Regions from separate parts of the Homo sapiens genome. Here region 1 is linked to region 2. The links are contacts of gene promoters, found by promoter capture Hi-C in human tissues and cell types (Jung and others, 2019). All regions are on one chromosome and are shown on one strand. Each heading gives the region's core, a stretch centred on a gene start or on the middle of the fragment in contact. The rest is flanking DNA. Distances are from core to core; before and after follow the strand shown.

What was found. The method cuts DNA at HindIII sites, captures the fragments that hold promoters and counts their contacts. A contact is called where the count stands out against the background at its distance.
Region 1: a contact is called between a fragment that was not itself captured here and the fragment with the promoter of BAIAP2L1 in region 2, in 2 of the 25 tissues and cell types used here (H1 embryonic stem cells and dorsolateral prefrontal cortex).

Annotation. Positions count from the first base shown.
Region 1 is chr7:98,671,740-98,677,538 of GRCh38, reverse strand. No RefSeq gene overlaps it. Among named protein-coding and RNA genes, the nearest start is that of NPTX2, 57 kb to the right of the region's middle. The HindIII fragment of the contact is 3,848 bases long and covers 1-3,739 here.
Region 2 is chr7:98,399,477-98,404,932 of GRCh38, reverse strand. It overlaps BAIAP2L1 (BAR/IMD domain containing adaptor protein 2 like 1), which reads left to right and starts at 3,843. Exons shown (of 14, transcript NM_018842.5): 1 at 3,843-4,131. The coding sequence starts at 4,081. RefSeq lists a silencer at 3,510-4,169. The HindIII fragment of the contact is 4,393 bases long and covers 2,531-5,456 here.

The DNA of each region.
Region 1 (5,799 bases), core at 566-3,065, 270 kb before region 2:
CAGTGGAGGGCAGAGAGCAGCTATGAATGAACTCAGGCAGTTTTTTGAGACAGGGTCTTGCTCTGTCAACCAGGCTGGAGTGCAGTGGTGTGATCATAGCTCACTGCAGCCTCTATTTCCCAGGCTCAAGCAATCCTCCCACCTCAGCCTTCCAAGTAGCTGGGACCACAGGTGCACGGCACCACACCTGGCTAATTTTTCTTTTCTTTTCTTTTTTTTAGAGGTAGGGTCTCGCTGCATTGCCCAGGCTGGTCTCGAACTCCTAGGCTCAAGTGATCCTCCCAATTTGGCCTCCCAAAGTGCTGGGATTACAGGTATGAGCCACAGCACCCGGCCCATGCTCATTTTTAAGACTTGGCTCCAAGGCCCAGTGTATGTGGTCTCATTTACCATTTACATGTACTCTAAGACAGGCAATATCACTATCACTCCCAGTTTACAGAAGGGGAAACTGAGGCACAGGAAGGTAAGTGGCTTGTGGATAAGGTCAAGCGGCTGTAAGTATAGAGCTGGAATCATCAGGCTGAGATGAGAAGAGACCTGGAGCATTTGAGAGGGAGGGCAGTGCTAGGAAGAAAGAGCACAGAAGACTGGGTTCAAATCCTGGCACTGACCCATGATGTGGGCTTTGGTAAGTCTATTGGCTTCTGGGTCTCAGTTGTCTCATCTGTAAAATGGGACCCTTTCATCCATCCTAATAATATTTACTGAGGACCTACTATGCACTATGATCTTTTCTACGTACTGGGGCTACAGGGCTTATCCCCTAGTGGGAGGAGAAGGATGTTATGAGACCATGTCAAGATAAGTGCTGGTAAAGAATAAAGCCTGCAGCCATAAAAAAGAATGAGTTCGTGTCCTTTGCAGGGACATGGGCGAAGCTGGAAGCCATCATTCTCAGCAAACTAACACAGGAACAGAAAACCAAACACCGCATGTTCTCACTCATAAGTAGGAGTTGAACAATGAGAACACATGGACACAGGGAGGGGAACATCACCCACCACAGCCTGTTGGAGGATGGGGGGCAAGGGGAGGGAGAGCACTGGGACAAATGTGTCATGCATGCCGGGCTTAAAACCTAGATGACAGGTTGATAGGTGCAGCAAACCACCATGGCACGTGTATACCTATGTAACAAACCTGCACATTCTGCTCATGTATCCCAGAACTGAAAGTAAAATGAAATTAAAAAAAAAAAAGGAATAAAACCATGGGGCCAGGCACAGTGGCTCATGCCTATAATCCTAGCAATTTGAGAGACTGAGATGGGAGGATCACATGAGGCTAGGAGTTCGAGTCCAGCCTGGGCAACATAGCAAGACCCTCCTCAGTATAAAAATTAAATAAATTAGCCAGGTGTGGGGGCTGCGCCTGTAGTCACAGCTACTCGAGAGGCTGAGGCAGGAGGATTGCTTGAGCCCAGAAATGTGTAGTTCGAGGCTGCAGTGAGCTATGATGGCACCATGGTGCTCCGGTCTGGGCTACAGAGTGAGACCCTGTCTCTAAAATAAAATTCTAAAAAAGAAAAAAACTATGAGAAAGGCGCAGAGGGTGAAGAGTGACTGGGTGGCTACTCTGCCTTAAGAGGTGACCCCTGCAGAGTGAGAAAGGAGGGGCTCTGGCCACAGAATTGGGAAAAGAGCATTTCTGCCCAAGGAGATGAGACAGTAGGTGCAAAGGCCCCAAGACAGGAACGATCTTGGAGGTTAATGAGAAGCTTAAACCAATGGGTCAAGTCAGGGACCTGCTAGGAGGAGGGGTGGGCTGATGGACAATTATTCCCCGGCCCAGCTTAGCCCAGACGCCTCAGAAGAGGACACCTGTGTGCCAGGCAGTAGTCCTCCAATTTCCTCCCCAAATCCAACCCCCTTAGGGGAGGCTGATTTCCCTAGAGGGCCAGCTGCTTGGTGTCAACTTGGATTGACCATTTAGGACACCGATACTCCAAATTTAATTTTTCCTTCGTGTCTCTTTCCAATTGACGAACTCTGAGTTATCTCTTTAAAAAAAATCATCCTAGAGGGGAGAAATCAGCAGACTTCAAAGCAAAATCAAGAGCTGCATTCAGCACTTGACCAGGGCTGTCTCTAACACTGGTCTGGCCCAGGGCAGTGCATGCAGTCGGTGCATTATGTATGCTCAATATGTATGAATGGCTTCACCAGGTAGGATGTCCTCTTGAGTCTCTCCTAGGCTTCCCTGCTGCTGAAGTACTGGGAAGGAGACAGGCAGCCCCAGGAGGTCACAGGACAGATGGACACTCATGACACTAAGCAGAGTGACACCAGCCAAGCCCGGTCAAGCCAGCTCCATACCATCCGTGTGCAGCGTGTGGAGTGGCATCCAGCATCTCCCACCCATTTCTGGGATACCTGTGCTTCCCCAGACATTGTATCAGCTCAAATGACCCACTCGGGACCCAAGGGCTGAGCTGCGCCTGCACAGGGCCCTGGGACATGCCCACGTGACCTCCCCAAAGCCCGGGACTGATAGGGCTCGTTGGAGACCAGCCCCAAGCAGAACAGCCATGGGGGGTCCCCATGGGGATCTTGTCCACTCTCCTCCTTGTGGACCACGACCCTTGGAGGCTCTCAGAGGCACCTGGGCTGGTTAAACAAGGGCTGGAACCTCCTTTCTGCAGAAATCTGTCTGCTTGACCTTCCCAGTTTTCATCCCCATGGGACACCAGGAACTGGGGCATCTCCTGCTGCAGCCCCCAGTTCCAAGGTGAAGCCAGCTCAAGTGCTGGTCCCAGCTCTCAACATCTGCATATTCACCTCGGAGCCCCGGCCTCCAGCCTCCAGCTTCCATCCGCTTTCTGTATGCTTAACAGCCAAAACAATGCATCACAGAAGTGGGTGGGGTGGGGAGAGGGTGCCAGCTCCACCAGGGAGAGGGCAGCAGGTGAAAATCTGAGTCATTCCAGTTCTGGGAAGTCTCCATCCTCGCTTGTCTCCGCAGAATCACAACCTCACATGGGCAGAGCAGGGCCCTGACTGTGGTCCTGTAAGCTTCCTGGTCGACCTCCCTCCTTCTCGGTTTATTCCGCCTGATGGGCTCTTCTGACTGGCTCCAAAGAAAACAGGTTAGCAATTTCCACCCTCTTCAGCCTCAGGACTCTTGAAGTAAAACTTTAAGCTACCTCCGCAGGGATGGTAGAATATATTTTGGGATATATTACTGTATAATTTGGGATAGTTCAGTAATTTTCCAGAACGACATTAACTGGGGCTGTGCTAGCCTTTTTATGTAAATATTGTTTCCCTATTATAATAATTACAATGAGATTTACCATTTATTAAACACTTACTGTATTCTAGGCACTGCAACCCTGGGAGGGAGATACTGTTATTGCCCTCATTTTCCAACTGAATAAACTGAAGTTCTAATAAATAAAGTGTGCAAAGTCATGTTCTAAGTGGTATTGCCAAATCTGCCTGTCTCTGGCAGACGGCAAGGATTGGATGCCCAGTGCCATTTCCAGCTCCCTTTTCCTTACCTTCCTCTTCTAGACATGATAGAAACCTTAACTTGCCAGACTTCCTTGCAGCTAGATGTGGCCAACTGAACAGTTTGGGCCATGAAGATGTAAGCCAAAAAGGCAGAGGCTTTGGAACAGATTCAGCCAATCAGATTTCTTCCTTTATTCTGCCTGGAATACAGATATGATGTCTGGAGGCATAGCAACTATTCTGTGGCCATGAGGCAATCAGTTCCACATGCCAAGGATGGCAGAGAAAGGAGGTAGAAGTAATCTGGGTTTTGATGACATCAATGTATTCTCTTCCCCCTGGTCATTATTGCATGAGGCAAATAAACTTATTTAATATAACATTCATTGGGTTTTTTGTTTCTCACAGGCAAATACCATTGATATAGTTTGGATATGTGTCCCCTCCAAATCTCATCAAAATGTGATTCCTAATATTGGAGATGGGGTCTTGTGGGAGGTGTCTGGGTCCTTAGGGTCAATTCCTCATGAATGGCTTGGTGCTGTCCTTGCCGTAATGAGTGAGCTATTGCTGTGTTGCTTACCATGAGATCTGATTGTTAAAAGGAGCCTGGGGCCAGGAACAGTGTTTCACACCTGTAATCCCAGCACTTTGGGAGGCCAAGACAGGCAGGTCTCTTGAGGTCAGGAATTCATGACCAGCCTGGCCAACAAGGCAAAACCCCATCTCTACTAAAAATACAAAAATTAGCCAGGTGTGGTGGCAGGCTCCTGTAATTCAAGCTACTTGGGAGGCTGAGGCAGGAGAATCTCTTGAACCCAAGAGGCAGAGGTTGCAGTGAGCTGAGATCGTGCCATTGCACTCCAGCCTAGGTGACAGAGTAAGACTCTGTCTCAAAAAAAAAAAAAAAAAAAAAAAAAGGAGCTAGGCATCTCCTTTTCTCTCTCTCGCTCCCTCTCTTGCCATGTGACATGCCTGCACTGCCTTTGCCTTCTGCCATGATTGGAAGCTTCCCGAGTATCCTTATAAGAAACACATGCTGGCACCATGCTTCCTGTGCAGCTTGCAGAACCATGAGCCAAAACAAACCTCTTTTCTTTATAAATTACCCAGCCTTGGGTATCTCTTTATAGCAAGGCAAATGGACTAACACAGCCATCGTAACTGAGACCTGACCTCCAAAGTCCATGGTGTTGGCACAATTTGGGGGCTGCCCATTGATCAGGGTGCTTTGGGCCGGGCCTTGGGAAACAGCATTAGAATGAACCTTGATTTGTCAAAAGCCAAGGATTCGTACCCACAAACACCACTGGAGTGTCCAGAGAGTTTCAAGGGTGGCAGCAAGCATTTCCTCAGTGGGCCAAAATCGTCACTTTTGTTTCAAAGACTTTGAGATTCCCCCATGAGTAGCTACTTCCCACAGAACTGGGGGCTCCTGCTTGGAGCACAGTCACGCCACAAATCTTGTCCTGATTTTAGTCTGTGTGCTGGTCGACTGCCTTCATCCCTGTCCCTCTGCCACTTTGGGGAAACTAAGGCAGTACCATACTCTCTGGCCTATCTGGTCCCAACAGACTACAGGAAAATCAGGCACATTACTCAGCAAAGAGAATGCCACAGTGCAGTCCCAGCAAACTCTGGAGGACGCCAAGAGGCTTGGGGGCTGTTCCCTGTATCCCCATCAATGAGGTTCTCCTGGAGGTAGCACTGGAGGGATGGTGGTGCAGACCTCAGGCAAATCACTTCATTTCTCTGAGTCTCAGTTTCCTCTTCTATAAAATGCGTATGAAAAGAATGTCTGCCTTATAAGATTGCTGTGAGAGTTGAATGACTTAACATGTGCCATGCTCAGTACAGCACCAGGATGTCAGCAGCCACCATGAGTGTGCTGTGACTATTATTGTGATTTTCAGCTGTGGGAGGCATCAGGACTACTCCCCACCATCCCCACCATCTTCTCTCTGGATCCAGGGATCATTGCACCTCCTTCTTCCCTTGAATCAGGCACAGATGGGTGGATTGTTGGGAAAACACCTAGAGGATTGTCCTGAATAGTCACCCAGACCAGCAACAGAATTTGCATGAACACGAAATAGACATCAACTGAGTGAAAGTCATGAGACTTGGGCATTGTTTGTTACTGCAGCAGAGCATAGCTTAACCTGACTAATATGCTCTTTCAGATCAACTACTCAATAAACTCATAATCAAGATCCACAATCAGGACTGGGTAGCTGCTACAATTGAGAATGAAACTTTGCTCTAAGCCTTTTGCTTAGACTAAAGGTGGGACAAGATGACCTTCTTTTCCCAAGAGGGAGGGTTGAGGACATGTTGAAAGAGA
Region 2 (5,456 bases), core at 2,594-5,093:
TTTCAAGTTTAGATGAAACCAGCAAATGTACTTGAAGAGTCTAAAACAAATGGCCTTTTGAGATCACATCCACTTGTCCACCTATGGCATGATTGGCTGTACCTGGATGGCTTTCACTGTAGTCCTCAAATTCTACCTTCTGCACAGGCATGGTTCAAGCCCAGTTCATTCTGCACACTGCAGCCCCCAGCAGACTCCCTGCCTGCACAGCAGATCATCAATACTCATTTGTATTTTGTTCAGCCAAGACCTCCCAGGCATCTATGTGCCAAGCACTGAGCTGAGAACTGCACTACTGTTTGTTTGTTTGTTTGTTTGTTTGTTTGTGACAGAATCTCACTCTGTCGCCCGGGCTGGAGTGCAGTGGCACGATCTCGGCTCACTGCAACCTCCGCCACCCGAGTTCAAGTAATTATCCTGCCTCAGCTTCCCAAGTAGCTGGGACTACAGGCACATACTGCCACGCCCGGCTGATTTTTGTATTTTAGTAGAGACGGGGTTTCACCACGTTGACCAGGATGGTCTCGATCTCCTGACCTTGTGATCCACCCGCCTCGGCCTCCCAAAGTGCTGGGATTACAGGCGTGAGCCACCGCGCCCAGCCTATTTTCAAGTTTCAATAAAAACCAACAGACATACTTGCAGAGCCGAATACATAATGGTAGAAATTATAAAGTCATGAATGCATCTCCCATATGGGAAGTGAAACCCAGTTGGCAAACCTCATGAACTAAATACTGTAAATCTGTTAAAGAAGAAGGCACCTGCTTCCATTGCCAGAAACTTGGGACTGATGTGTTATTTCCCCCTAACATCAGGAAGACATAACATTTTGGTTCCCAAGAATGGTAAGTTTTTTTTGTTTGCTTGTTTGTTTTGAGACAGAGTCTCACTCTCTTGCCCAGGCTGCAGTGCAGTGGCATGAGATCCCGGCTCACTGTAACCTCCGCCTCCCGGGTTCAAGCGCTTCTCCTGTCTCAGCCTCCCGAGTAGCTGGGACTACAGGTGCCTGCCACCACACCCGGCTAATTTTTGTATTTTTAGTAGAGACGGGGCTTCACCATATTGGTGAGGCTGATCTCTAACTCCTGACCCCAAGTGATCCACCCACCTTGGCCTCCCAAAGTGCTGGGATTACAGGCGTGAGCCGCTGTGCCTAGCTGCATGATGTGTTTTATAGTTTGCAAAACCCAATAAAACAGTCCCCAAGTCCAGGTGGTGGTTTCTGTTCTAAGTCCAGTGGTACTCACCCTCTTGATGTTCCCATCTGGGCCACACAGTGCCTTCATTGTGTATATTTCCTAGTGAACTTTATCACAAGATTAGTTTAGAAGTCTCACATCTTTCTTTTTTCTTTTCTTTTCTTTTTCTTTTTTTTTTTTTTTTGAGACAAATTTTCGCTCTTGTTGCCCAGGCTGGAGTGCAATGGCGTGATCTCACTCACCACAACCTCAGCCTCCCAGGTTCAAGTGATTCTCCTGCCTCAGCCTGCTGAGTAGCTGGGATTTAGGCATGCACCATCAAACCTGGTCAATGTTGTATTTTTAGTATAGACGGGGTTTCTCCATGTTGGTCAGGCTGGTCTCAAACTCCTGACCTCAGGTGATCTGCCTGCCTCAGTCTCCTAAAGTGCTGGCATTACAGGCGTGAGCCACTGCGCCTGGCCAGAAGTCTCACATCTTAACAGCCCATAAAAGATGCAATTGCACTCACATAGACGTTTTGGCATTTTTGTTTGTTTTTTGAAACAGAGTCTCACTCTGTGGCCCAAGCTGGAATGCAGTGGCACCATCACAGCTCACTGCAACCTCTTGGGCTCAAGCCATCCTCCTACCTCAGCCTCCGGAATAGCTGGGACTACAGATGCACACTATCACACTTGGCTAATGTTTTTAATTATATTTTTTGCAGAGATGGGGGTGGGCTCCCTATATTGCCTAGGCTGGCCTCGAACTCCTAGACTCAACCAGTCCTCCTGCCTTGGTCTCCCGAAGTGCTCGGATTACAGGCATGAGCCATCCTGCCTGGCCCCCAGATAGAAGCTTTTTGTTTGTTTGTTTTTGAGACAGAGTTTCGCTCTTGTCCCTCAGGCTGGAGTGCAGTGGTGCTATCTCAGCTCACTGCAATCTCTGCCTCCCAGGTTTAAGCAATTCTCCTGCCTCAGCCTCCCGAGTAGCTGAGATTACAGGTGCACGTGCTACCATGCCTGGCTAATTTTTGTATTTTTAGTAGAGACGGGGGCAGGGCGGTTTCACCATGTTGGCTAGGCTGGTCTCGAACTCCTGACCTCAAGTGATCCGCCTGCCTTGGCCTCCCAAAGTGCTAGGATTACAGGCATGAGCCACCAAGCCCAGAGGTTTTAAAAAATCAGAATAAGACCTCTGCCCTTGTTGGGTGCGGGTCTCAGGTAGCTAAATGGTGGTTCTTACTGGGGAGAAGGCTGTCACCCAGCCCAAGGTACATAATCCTGGAAGAGAGGCCCAAAGAAGGCAGCTGCCTCACCCTTGGGCAGGGCTGAGGCCGGGATGGAGACAAAATAGGGAGCCCAGGAGCCACACACCTCCACAGAGTTTGAGTGATGACAAGAAGAGAGGCTTCCCTAACACTTCAGCTCAGGTGGTTTTCTAAACCCTACAACAATCTCGTGAGTAGCATGGTTACACTGCATTGAGTTAAAGGTCGTTGTTAATGTAAAGTTTAAAAATGTACTACTGGGCCGGGCGCGGTGGTTCAAGCCTGTAATCCCAGCACTTTGGGAGGCTGAGCAGGGCGGATCACCTGAGGTTAGGAGCTCGGGACCAACCTGGCCAACATGGTGAAACCCCGTCTCTACTAAAAATACAAAAAAATTAGCCTGGCTTGGTGGCACGTGCACCTGTAATCTCAGCTACTCGAGAGGCTGAGGCAGGAGAATTGCTTAAACCTGGGGGGCAGAGATTGCAGCAAGCTGAGAGAGCACCACTGCACTCCAGCCTGAGGGGACAAGAGTGAAACTCTGTCTCAAAAACAAACAAAAAGCTTCTATCTGGGGGCCAGGCAGGATGGCTCATGCCAGGCAGGAGAATCGCTTGAACCTGGGAAGCGGAGGTTGCAGCAAGCTGAGATCGCACCACTGCACTCCAGCCTAGGCGACAGAGTGAGACTCCATCTCAAAAAAAAAAAAGTACTAACATTTCGGTAACTAGACCCTGGCATTTATTAATTTTTTGATATATCAGGAGCTTTCAAAACTGCAAGTGGCAGCCCGTTTTCTCCACCTAGGAGGGCCGATGCCCCCACGGGTCCCTCTAACTTTTGGGGTCAGTGAGCGGCGGGGCAAGAAGAGATCAATCAGGGAAATCAATACAACTGGGGAATGTGGCCCCTTCCCTTGGTCCCCAAAACGCAGGGCTTGAAGGAAGCCCTCATGGAGGAAGTGGGCCTCGGGGTCCCCGGGGCCAGCACCACGCGAGGCAAACAAGGGCTCCAGGACCACAGTCTAAACACCCCCAGGCTGCCCTTGCCCTAGCAAAACAGCAAAGCGAGCAGCCCACTCCACACCGGTCCCCACTCCAGGGTCTCGGGCCCTACGTCGCCGGAGCTCTGGGAGAGCCGCGAGGGGGCGCACCGTGGCCTCGCTGCCCTGTCCGCCACAGGTGGGGTGACCCCGCCCACTCGGGGGGCCCGCTTCCCTCTGGCCACGCCCATTCCAGCTGCCTGGCCCCGCCTCCTCCCCGCCCACCCCGGCCGGGCCCCGCTCACCAGGCCGCCTCAGGTGGGTACGCCACGCCCCTCCGGCCCTGCGGCCCCGCCCCCGTCTGCCCCGCCCGCCTCAGGTGGGGCCGCCCGGCCCGCCCAGCTTCCTCTGGCGGCGTCCGGCCGCTTCTCCTCTGCTCCTCGAAGAAGGCCAGGGCGGCGCTGCCGCAAGTTTTGACATTTTCGCAGCGGAGACGCGCGCGGGCACTCTCGGGCCGACGGCTGCGGCGGCGGCCGACCCTCCAGAGCCCCTTAGTCGCGCCCCGGCCCTCCCGCTGCCCGGAGTCCGGCGGCCACGAGGCCCAGCCGCGTCCTCCCGCGCTTGCTCGCCCGGCGGCCGCAGCCATGTCCCGGGGGCCCGAGGAGGTGAACCGGCTCACGGAGAGCACCTACCGGGTAAGCCCAGGGCCCGGGGCTCAGGGAGGTCAGGGCTTTCCACCTCGGGGTTCAGAAGGGGACTTTACGCGGGAAGGTACTTTCCCTCCCTCCAGCTCCCCTCCCCCGCGTCCTTCCACCTCTCCCGGTCTCTCCCACTCCTCCCCTGGCCCTCCACAGCCCCTCTTCTTCCTCCCCTGGCCCTCTCCTTCCTCCCAGTCCCTCCCCATCCCCTCCCCCCTACTTTTCCTCCTCCTTCCCTCCCCTCCTCCCTGTGCTTCTTCCCTGTCTCTCTTTCCCGCCCCGCTGTACCTCTCCCTCTGCCCCTCCGCTCCCCGTTCACTCTCCCTCCTCCCCTGCCCCTCGACACTGTCCCTCCCCTCCTCCTGGTTCTTCCTTCTCCCCCGTGTGTCTCCCCCTCCTCCCCTGTCCCTTCTTCTCCCCAGTCTATCCCCCTCCCTCCCCCTCCCCCTCCCCCTCCTCTTGGTTCTTCCTCCTTCCCCGTGTGTCTCCCCCTCCTCTCCTGGCCCTTCTCCGCCTCCCCTGTCCCTTCTCCTCCCCGTCCCTTCTCCTCTTCCCTGACCCTCAGAGCTCTGGAGACCACCCCCCATCCCCTGACCAGCTACACATTTTACAACTAGTGCACTTAAGTTGGGGAGGGGTCTGTTGTGCGTCGGTGGGGCCCACGTCCTCCTCCCAACTTCTTGGAATCAGTGACCCGTGCTGTCCTGGCTGCCGGGCTTAAGCCCTCCGGGACCAAAGACACAAGCTCGAGTTTCCTCTAAGAAAAGAAAGCGCCCAAGAATGTGGGGGTGAAACTCCCCTGTAATTAGGATCGCCAGGTGAGCCGAGCTCTGGGCGTTCTCCCGGGAAACGCCCTCCTCCTTAGACCCTTCCTCTCCCACCTTTCAGTTGAACTTGGCTTTTATATATGGGTTATTTGGTGAGGTTCTTGAAGTCAAAGAACAACCGAGGTTTTAATGAAATTGACCTAACCTTAAGGAATGCGTTGATAGCCGGTCTCTTAACTTGCATGTATTAGGAGAGAATTTTTCCAGACACAGACAGAGACTTAGGATTAGTGGCCTGTTTAGTTTACATACTTACAAATGAATTCCAGGTGAAATAAGATATCTGTTAATCATCTGCTATTAATAGAACACAAAACAACTTTTGTTTTAATTCAGCCTAGGCGCTTCGAACCCTTGAAACTTTAACGTTCTCTAAGTTCATGTATAGGCATGTTTAAGGTTATAAATAAATGGTTGGTCGGTTGGTTGGTTGGTGTGTTTTATCTTTTTTCTGTCCCTGGTGCTTGAATCAGGAAGTTTAGTCATTTTGATAGA